Linked DNA regions of Homo sapiens: region 1 is linked to region 2. Evidence: promoter capture Hi-C in human tissues and cell types (Jung and others, 2019). All regions are on one chromosome and are shown on one strand. The core of a region is centred on a gene start or on the middle of the fragment in contact, and the rest is flanking DNA. Distances in the headings are between cores, read along the strand shown.

Region 1 (5,477 bases), core at 2,821-5,320, 1.0 Mb before region 2:
CTGCACCTGGCCTATTATTTTAATTGATACATAATAATTGTACATATTTGTGGGGTACACTGTGATGTTTTAATACATGTATACACTTGTGTAATAAGTAAATCAAGATATTTAGCATATTGTAAACTAAAGATGAAATCCCACGCCCCCCACCCACTGAGAAACCTTAAAAACGGAGTCCTCAGCCATGATGGCTGCTTTCATGACTGACATGGACCTCTGGCTACCGGTGCAGCCATGGCAATCACTGTGCTCAGGGATCCAGAACAATCTAGAAGATGGAATAGAAGGTCAGACACACTTTATTGTACCTCCTCTCTTCTATGGTTTAGACACAACAATTGACCAGCATTAATGTTAAAATAGAGGTCATGAGATTGACAGAATAGACTCTTTGTGGCAATAATATATCAAATTATGAACAGGACTTAAGGCCATGCCAGGCAAAGGTTAAGTCACACATTCCTACACTTAAAGAATAAACTATGTTCTAACTGCCACAAGGTTTTCCTTTTTCTCTAGCAGCTAAACAAGCTCTGGCTTCGAGATAAGCAATAGCAAAACAGTTGTAGCTCCTCCACCACCAGACACTTACTGGCTGACTCCCCTGTTCCACAAGCCATAACTACAGCTTTGATTGGCCAAATGATTGATTTCAGTAACTTTCTCCTGATAAGAAGACCACTGCCCAGGGGCTGCTTCTGGCCAGTTTACAGAGGCTGCACACTTGAATGCCTTTGTGTCTCTGCTTCACCTTTTGATGTAAGGGTCTAAATTGTAATGCACGTAAATGTTAAGTTTGCACCCCAAGGTGAACATGGGTCATATGCTACATATATGTTTATTTAGCACCTACATGTTAGGACCACCTTCAGGAATATTCCTAGCTCCTCCCGTAACCTACTGAATGTGTACACCTGGCCAACCTGCTTAGCACATAAATCCCTGTTCCACCTGCCTCTCCCTCGAAGTGCCTGCCTTTTGGGCTTTGGCTGGAGCCTATGCTTCCCAGCCTGTTAGAATGGCCACCTTACATGCTGTAACAGTTTTTAAGAAATAAAGCCTCCTGCTGGGGGCGGTGGCTCACGCCTGTAATCCTAGCACTTTGGGAGGCCAAGGTGGATGGATCACTTGAGCTCAGGAGTTCGAAACTAGCCTGGGCCACATGGTGAAGCCCCGTTTCTACAAAAAAACAAAAACAGACAAAAAAACCCCAAAATTAGCTGGTATGGCAGCATGTGCCTGTAGTCCCAGCTACTTGGGAAGCTGAGGCTGGAGGATCACTTGAACCAGGGAGGCTGAGGTTGCAGTGAGCCAAGATCATACCACTGCATTCCAGCCTGGGTGACAAAGTGAGACCCTGTCTTAGAAAAAAAAAAAAAAAGAAATCTCCCTTTCTAAATTTATAATTACCTTATGCCTTTATCATTTCTTTGTGGTGAAAACATTCAAAATTCTCTATTCTAGCTATTTTGAAATCTACAATACAATATTGTTACCTGAGGTCACCCTATGGTGCCATAGAACACTAGAACTTATTCCTTCTAAACGTACCTTTGTATCCACTGACCAATCCCTCCCTATGTCCCCTTCCCCACTTCCTTCTCCAGGCTCTGGTAACCACCATTCTACTCTCTATTTCTAGGAATGAGAACAACTTCATGAGACTTATTTTGACTGGATCATCTGAGGTCAGGAGTTCTAGACCAGCCTGGCCAACATAGTGAAACCCCATCTCTACTGAAAATACAGAATTAGCCGGGCGTGCCTGTAATCTCAGCTACTTGGGAAGCTGAGGCAGGAGAATTGCTTAAACCTGGGAGGTGGTGGAGGTTGCAGTGAGCCGAGACTGCGTCTTTGCACTGCAGCCTGGGCGACAAGAGCAAAACTTCATCAAAAAAAAAAAAAAAAAAAGAAAAAAGAAAAGAAAGAAGTGGGTGCAGAGGCTGGGCTACAGAAGAACACACTGATTCCCATGGCTGAATACTCCTTCGCACAAGAGCAGAGCCTCTGTGAGGGATAAGGACTCCTTGAAGATCACAGGGGTGGTAAGAGGGAAGACTGGGTTCCCATCATTTCCTGAACAGCTCATGTTATTGATGAAATGTTGAGGTCTCTCCTCACTGAAAGCCAGAGTTTCTGGCATTTCTTGGCTAGAGGACACAAAGGTGGTAATGATGTGTGAGAGGTGAGGGAATAGAGGGGACGTGGAACAGCCTGTCTTTTTGCCTCGGCCTTCTGCTGCCCTTTAGCTATGGGGGGCTCCAGGGAATAAAGCAGGAGAAACATCTGTCCCTGGGCTGAGGGAAGTGGGCAGCCGGTGGCACCTCAGCACAGAGGGATGGGAGTGTTTTCCTTCCACCTTGTCTTGCTTCTGGCTCCCTGGTTAGCTCCAGCTCTGGATCCTGCCTCTCAAGCTGGTGGGTCTTCTGGAATCCCTGACCAGCTCTTTCCCAAAAGCACCCACAGTAGGACACCCCAGTGTGTTTCTGGGAGACATGTATAGGCTGTCCTGGGAGATAACTTTTCCTGATGTTTAACTTGGTCCTTTTTGATACCATCTGACCATCTTCCCTTTTGTGCTGGTATCTTGGGAAGGAGAGAGCCTTATGACTGGAACCCTCAGATGCCCCTCTTCCTGAAGGCCAAGGGGAGAACAGATGTTCCACTGAGTAGAGGAAAGCTCAGACACAGGTGGTGGAAGAAAATGTAACAGAGGGGCTAGGTAAACTCCTCCACAGGCTTTGGGTGGGCCACTTAGTTGGATGTCAAGTTCACAGACACCTGCTTTCATGACTGACATGGACCTCTGGCTACCGGTGCAGCCATGGCAATCACTGTGCTCAGGGATCCAGAACAATCTAGAAGATGCTAAATAAATGTCCTTTCCCTAGGGCAGCAATCACTTTCATTCTACCTTGACCTAATAACCCATGCTCTGATAGTGAGTGTGGACTCTGGGATAAGAGGCAATATGTAGATTTATCTCTGTTTTAATTTCAGCACTTTCTTCCAGGAAGCCTTTTCCTTTGAGGTGCTGCATGATTTCTGTGAGAGTGGGGTTTAAATCCAGTCCCTGAAGAGTGGGAGGATGAGCACTGAGTGAGTGAGCAGACATCCGAGTCCCTTCAGGGTGAGGGGCGCTGCCTCTTCACCAAGTGTCGCAGGGCCCTCCTCACGTCCTTGTTCCGAAGGGTGTAGATGATGGGGTTGAGCATGGGTGTGATGACTGTGTAGAAGAGACTGAGGACGCGGTCTGTGGTAACAGAGGAGCCTGCCTGCGGCCGGATGTAGGTGATGCTGGCTGTTCCAAAGAAGAGAGAGACCACGAGCAGATGGGAGGAGCAGGTGGAGAAGACCTTGCGGCGGCTCTGGGTGGAGGCCATTGCTAGGATGGCACCCAGGATGCGGATGTAAGAGGTGACAATCAGAGAGAAGGGGATCATAATGAAGACTATGGTGGCTGTCATCACGGAGATCTCGCTCCTGTGCTTCCCAGCACTTGCCAGCCTCAGTACTGGCAGGATGTCACAGAGAAAGTGCGGGATGATCGGGTGGCTGCGAAAAGGTAGAGAGAAGATGAGGGAGGCATGGGTGGTGGCCGTGATGATGCCTGTGAGCCAGGAGGTACCCACCATGGCCATGCAGGCCCGTGGGCTCAAGAGGGTGGAATAGCGTAGGGGCTGGCAGATGGCAACATATCGGTCATAGGCCATGGCCGTGAGCAGGCAGCACTCCGAGATGCCCAGGACAATGAAGACGTACATCTGGGCTGCACAGCCCTGGAAAGAGATGGCCTGGGGATGCGGGGAGCCCAGATTGGCCAGGGTCCTGGGCACGATGTCAGTGGTGTAGAAGAGCTCCACCACTGAGAGTTGGCGCAGGAAGAAGTACATGGGGGAGTGCAGGGCAGGGCTGACCTGTGTGAGGAGGATGATCAGGGAGTTACCCAGCAAGGTGACCAGGTAGACCAGAAGCACCACCCAGAACAGGGGGCCCTGCAGGGCCTTGAGGTCAGAGAATCCCAGAAGGAGGAATTCAGGCAGTGTAGTATGGTTTTCCCCAGCCATCACTCCAGGCCAGAAGCTGAGGCACAGCCAAGAAGAGAAGTTATTTAGAAATAACAAGCAACATTTCTGTAATTTGGTAAAGCACTTGCCACACAGTTCCTCTCAAAATCAAGTGAGAGAATTAATACCTTTCTCTGAATGAGCCATGGGTCTCAGAGAGATTAAATAATGTGTCTGAGGTAATATCTAGAAAGTGGCAGGCCTGGAACTTGAATCCAGGTCTCTTGACTCCAAATTCGACGCCTTTCTCACTGTTTCCTGGGCTCTCGTCCTGTGTCTGGGGCCTGACTCTCATATGTAAAGACTCTAGCTCTGATCTTTGGATCTCTCTCCAGAGTGAGGGGTGAAGCAGCTGCTATGACCTAGGCCCCTTTGTACTCTCTAGATGGATGCTGAGGCACAAAAGAAACTGGGTAGCACCAGGGACTGTCCCGAACTGGTGTCTAATGTTCACCATAGTGAGCTGTGGGTTAAGAGTGTCACACAGTGATATGACTATTTGTGATAATACTGCCCAATGGTATCATTGGGATTCTGACACCTTCCCTGATTTCTCTGTTCTCCTCTTATCTGGGGCCCTGTGATCAGCTACACTAGCTGTTCTGTCCCAGCACACCCTGTTCTGTCAGGCCTCCATGCATTGCCATAGTGTCTCCTTTCAGAGGATATTTCTATTCTTCATATTAAAATCCCATCACACTTCAAGCCTTCACTCAAGTTTCGCTATCTCGGTGGCAGCTTTCTGTGATCCTCAGGCTCAGAAATAATTATCCATGGCATTTCAAGATTAAAAGTGACATTTAGGAACATATATTTCCATATGACAGTACTTGGATCTTATCTTCAACATTTTAGAAGGGTGCTGTGCAGAGTCTGTTTGAACATCTGCAGTGATGGGGAACTCACCACCTATTGAGGTAGCCCTTTCTAGCTATGGCCTCTTCTGCCTGTAGGAAAAGACTTTACTGTATTGGTCTTGGCTAAATGCTTAGTATTTCATACAATATTTAACTCCTCTTGCACCAGAGAGCCCTTGAGTATTTGAGGAAGGCACTTTTATCTCTGCTTTCATGAGATGTTGCTTGTCCTTTTGTCCTAGCACTTATTACTCCACTGTGAGATCCTGCAGGACGTGGTGGGGAGGTGGGGAGGCAGTTACCTATTTTAGCAGCTGCTAATGTTTCCCAAGTGCTTGGTTCCTGCCAGGCACCATGCTAAGGGCTAAACATTCATTAAATCATTGGATCTTCCTAATTACACTACGACATAGAAACCTTCATTTTCTCCATTTTACAGATAAGGAGAGGGAAGCCCAGACAGTGTTAAGTAACTTTCTCAATGTCACACATTTTGTAAGTGACAGAGTTTGGGTTCAAATCCAGGTCTGCCTAACCCCAGAGCCTGTGA
Region 2 (5,149 bases), core at 407-2,906:
TCTCATTTCCTCTTAGAAAAGTCTTGTGCAAATAGCATAATTTGCTCCTGTTGACTTTTTTAATGTGCTCATGGAGACTGCTCGGGATCTAGATCTGTTTGGGATCTGCAGGACTTCTCCTTCTGCAGTGTACACACACGTGCACACACGTATGTGCACATACCCAGGGCACTGGTGCCATCAAAACTTTCTCTTGTTCTTCAGCCTTCCCCATTCCAGGTAAGGCCACCACCACCTTCAAGGCTCCCAGGCCCAGACCCTCAGGCAGGTAGCAATTGCCAAGGCTTTAATGTCCCACCCCATTAATTTTATCTTCCTTTATCTCCTGAAAAGATTAATGTTCTAAACCCTGGCACCCAAAACACCCTCATGTTGAAAACTCTTCAATACCCCCTTCTCACACTCATCTTCAGAGCTACCATGAGGCAGAGAAGCCTCCGGAATCAGCCCACATGGGGCTGGGTGAATGCCAACACCAAGCAAGGGGAAAGTCACAAATTGACATCCAGCACCTTATTCTCCACCCTTCAGCCCCTCAACTGACTCCTGCTCCACGGCCCGTTCTATTAATATCTAGCATTTAGCACCAGCCTGGACAAAAACCTACTTGGAAAGATGGTACAAGAACCCCACACAACTCCATAGAACTTCGCTGTCTAAAAAAATGCTTTGCCGTATATTATCCCACTTAATCTCCACCACTATGCTGTACATAGGAGCCACAACTCCTAGACAACAAATAAAAATCCTATCACTTTTCAAATCCTAACATTTTCATATGACAAAGCCAGAACTCAAAATCCAGACCTCTAGAGTCCCAGATCAGGAAAGGAAGAAACGCCAAGTCAAAGAGAAGCTTCTTTAGAATAATCTGCTTTTCTGGATTATTCACACCATGGGTCAGCTCCCCACTTGAAGTCAGAACCAAGCTCCAATTTCAGTGAACCACCATCATGCTTTGACCAGGAGATTCTCTCAGAAATGTGGGGTCCCATTGAGTAGGCCTGAAGACAGAGATTGACAGGCCTATGTGAGCCTGGAGGAGTTCTTTTTAGGGGCTGGATAATGTCAAGAACAGAGAACAACTCCAGAGAAGGCACACACGCCTTCAAACCCATCCCCTCATGGGGAGAAAGCAGCCAGGAACTCAGGCCTCAAGTGTTCTAGGTGTGGTCTCCCAAGGAAACGGGCTCACTTAGTTTGGGGAAACCTTCAAACCCTGCACTGAGTCCTATGTAGACTGGGACAGAAGGTGGACAATGTAATCCCCTGAGCCCTCAACCTCCTCCTGGAGAGATGACAAGATTAAGATTTCTCTACCAGAACCCTCAACAGACACATCCCAGAATCTCCCCAAGTGAAATGTGCTCTACCTACCGTCCCTGAGAGCCCAGGGGTGTGAACCCAGAGGGCAGGTGTGGTGGGGAAGGGAGGAGGGAGAAAGAAAAGGGATGGCTGGGAGTTAGAGAAAGGCTCCTATCCAGGACCTGCCTGCAAGGATCCCAGGTATCAGCCAGCCCAACCTAGCCCTTGTTGACTTAGCAGGTGACAGTTTGGGGAAGAAGGGGAGGAGGATGCGGAAGTCACACCTCTCCAGGCTTGGTTCCCATTGGCCCTTGATATCCTTAAAAGGGCCCAGCAATTTCAGCATCCTTATTCCCCAGACCTTCTGCAGATTCTGTGGTTATACTCACTCCTCATCCCAAAGAATGAAATTTACCACTCTCCTCTTCTTGGCAGCTGTAGCAGGGGCCCTGGTCTATGCTGGTGAGTATGGCCTTTCCTCTGCGCCCCACAAGAGTCCTCCCAGTCCAAGGAGCCCCTCACTCCTGCCTTCACCCCTCTCCTCCTCTCTCAGTGCTATTCTGGTTTCCCTGCCTCTGCAAGTGACTCCTCTCCCAGTTCTCCACACGTGGCCTCTGCACCCCACTGGCCAGAGGAACCCAGAACTCTCTGGCCTCTGCCTGCCCTCCCAGCTCATCTCCTCACACACCATTGTTTACCCACTATGCCTCAGCTACACTGGCTTCTCTGGTGTCCCCTGCATGTAGTTGAGCAGGGTGTCCCCTACACGAGGGTGCCCAGGCAAGGAGTGGTAGAAGCTAAAATCTGGCCGACACTCTACTTGCCAAGCAGTGAGCCTGGCCCCTGGCTGTGTCTCTTAGGAGGAAGGGATGCCTTTTTTTTTTTTTTTTTTTTGAGACCGAGTCTCCCTCTGTTGCCCAGGCTGGAGTGCAGTGGCACGATCTCTGCTCACTGCAACATCCACCTCCTGGGTTCCAGCGATTATCTTGCCTCAGCCTCCTGGGTAGCTGGGACTACAGGCTCATGCCACCTTGCCCAGCTAATTTTGTATTTTTAGTAGAGACGGTGTTTCACCATGTTGGCCAGGTTGGTCTCGAACTCCTGACCTCAGGTGATCCGACTGCCTTGGCCTCCCAAAGTGTTGGAATTACAGGCGTGAGCCACCGTGCCCTGCTGGGATGCCTTTTTTGATCCACAGAAGCACTATTTGGGCCATGATGATCCTGCTGTTCCTTGAACATCAGGATCTTCCTTCTTGTCCTTTCCTCGTCTAGAATGCTTTCCCTCTCCCTGGCCCCTTCCCCCAACCAACTCTAATGTCACCTGGCCAATGATTTTTCATCTAGAAAATCTCAGTTTACATATAATTCCCCAAAAAGGCCTTCCATGCACATGCGGAACAAATCAGATCCATGTGCCCTTCTCGCACCAGGCTGCACGTTCCCTTCCAGCACTGTCACACCAGCCATTAAATAATTTCGTAAAAGGACAGATGTAAGCTCTGTCAGGGCAGGGGTCTTGTCTGCCCTCTTCAGCACTGCACCTCCATCTCTTGGCACAGAGCTTTGCATAAATGTTGTGTTGAAAGAATAAAGGGAATCAAGGCTGGGGTCTCAATCCTGCAAATCGCTCAAATATGGCCCCATAACCCCCACATACTGTCCTCCTCCACCACAGAGGAGGTTGAGCCCCTCTGACCATGGCCAGCTCCATGACAGACACCTCAGGGAAGCCTACCAAGCCAGGGGCCAGTCAGGAGGAAGGCACTGTTCCAAGAGACATTACACTTCTCAGAGGGGAAGTTATTTCAAAAGCCACAGGAGTTAAACATCAGAGAGTGCCCCAGTAGACCCGCTGATATGGTGGAAGGGCATGTCCAACCCAAAGGGAAATTGATCCCCTTCTATCCATGAGCATTCCCAGGAGATAAGCTTTGGGAATGGGAGGGGAGGGTGGCTCGAGTAGGTCCGGTTCGGTCCTTGCTCTCATCTGGCATGTTTCCCCCATTGCAGAAGATGCCTCCTCTGACTCGACGGGTGCTGATCCTGCCCAGGAAGCTGGGACCTGTGAGTCCTCCTCTCCCTGCTGCCCTAGCCCTCGTTGGGAAGGTTTAACAGTTAGGGATGTGAGTGGTGGCTGGGAGAAGAAGCCAGTGGGAGGAGATCTGGATTCTGTGCTTGGTGGTAATGGGGAGGGGCAGGTAATATAATAAAGAAGGTGGCATGGGTTGAAATGGTACAAGGCTAAGGACAAAAGAGGATGACCCAGAGAGGCAAGGACAATAGGGAGCATGGGGAAAAGGTTATTGTGAATAAAAGGGAGAGAAACATGAGGTTAAGTGGTAAGGGCAATGTCTCACATGGCATTAATACCTTCACCTGCAAACACCTCCCATTACTCCCAATTCCTTAGCAAGATAACCATTATCTGGCCTCTAACCTCATTTTCCAACCCCATTTTCCATGACTCTCTTTTATGTCGCACCCACATCAGCTAAATTGAACTTGTTTCCATTCCCCACACATGCCTTCGCCTGACCTCTTACTCACTGCCTGCCCCCAGGGAAGCCCCTTTGGTACATCCTCTCCTGCTAACATCCTGCCTTCAAGATCCAGCTTCTCTATGAAGTGCTCCCCGATTCTCACCATCCCCTAGTCCAAATCCTTCCCCAACCCTGCCCGCTGCATTCCAAGAGACACACAGCATGCAGAAATGCTATCTCCCTTAAGGGGGCAGCGTTTAAGCCATATCACTTCTGTATCCTGGCACCCAGCACACATTAGGTATCCTGGGGCCCTGCAACCCATTCCAAAAGAAACAAACACTTTCACTTTGCTAAAATCCATCAATTTGTGCATTCACAGCTAAGCCTAATGAAGAGATCTCAGGTCCAGCAGAACCAGCTTCACCCCCAGAGACAACCACAACAGCCCAGGAGACTTCGGCGGCAGCAGTTCAGGGGACAGCCAAGGTCACCTCAAGCAGGCAGGAACTAAACCCCCTGAGTAAGTCTCTGTCTCTATGCCAGATCAACAACCTAGAAAAGTCTCTGGCTGCAGGCCCACATCACACCTCCACGCACAGAGATAAGCCTGGTGAGAAGCAGGTAGACTCAAACAGCTGAACACAAAGGCACAAATGGGATTGTGCATTGCACCCACACACAACGTTTTCACAATAGTAGATGTTGCAGCCTGCACAATACATGGTTTCTGTCCTGGCTCACACAACTTCCTATGAGAGAAGTGCTGGAGCCCTCAGCAAAACTTCTGCACTTTAGGACTTTCTGTAGGGATGATGTCCTGGGTGGAGTGGGGGTGGGGGGCGGGTGCAGGTGGGGCAATGCAGAGTTCTCTTTAAATGAGGTGATTTTTCTGCTGATGTGATTGTTCTGCTCCAAAATTAGAATCCATAGTGGAGAAAAGTATCTTACTAACAGAACAAGCCCTTGCAAAAGCAGGAAAAGGAATGCACGGAGGCGTGCCAGGTGGAAAACAATTCATCGAAAGTGAGTGCATCCCAAGGCAAGGCTTTGTGGGAATGAGAATACTCACCACCCACCATCCGGGGGTGGGATATGGGACAGAACTTGCCCCCATTTCCACCTCACATATGAGACTTGGAATTGCCACAGCCCCTGCTGTTGAAGACCCCTCACTTTGTGCTTTCATATGTTTCCAATTTCTCATCCAGATTCAAATTGCCAGCTGGGCACGGTGGTTCACGCCTGTAATCCCAGCACTTTGGGAGGCCAAGGCAGGTGGATCGCTTGAGCCCAGGAGTTCAAGACTAGCCTGGGCAACATGGCGATACCCCATCTCTACAAAAAAATACAAAAATTAGC

What was found. The method cuts DNA at HindIII sites, captures the fragments that hold promoters and counts their contacts. A contact is called where the count stands out against the background at its distance.
Region 1: a contact is called between the fragment with the promoter of OR10P1 here and the fragment with the promoter of LACRT in region 2, in 1 of the 25 tissues and cell types used here (mesendoderm cells).

What each region holds. Positions count from the first base shown.
Region 1 is chr12:55,635,485-55,640,961 of GRCh38, reverse strand. It overlaps OR10P1 (olfactory receptor family 10 subfamily P member 1), which reads right to left and starts at 4,070. Exons shown (of 1, transcript NM_206899.1): 1 at 3,129-4,070. The coding sequence starts at 4,070. The coding sequence ends at 3,129. RefSeq lists an enhancer at 3,732-4,233. The HindIII fragment of the contact is 17,045 bases long and covers 1-5,477 here.
Region 2 is chr12:54,631,402-54,636,550 of GRCh38, reverse strand. It overlaps LACRT (lacritin), which reads left to right and starts at 1,656. Exons shown (of 5, transcript NM_033277.2): 1 at 1,656-1,767; 2 at 3,318-3,371; 3 at 4,170-4,310; 4 at 4,712-4,813. The coding sequence starts at 1,710. The HindIII fragment of the contact is 5,914 bases long and covers 1-5,149 here.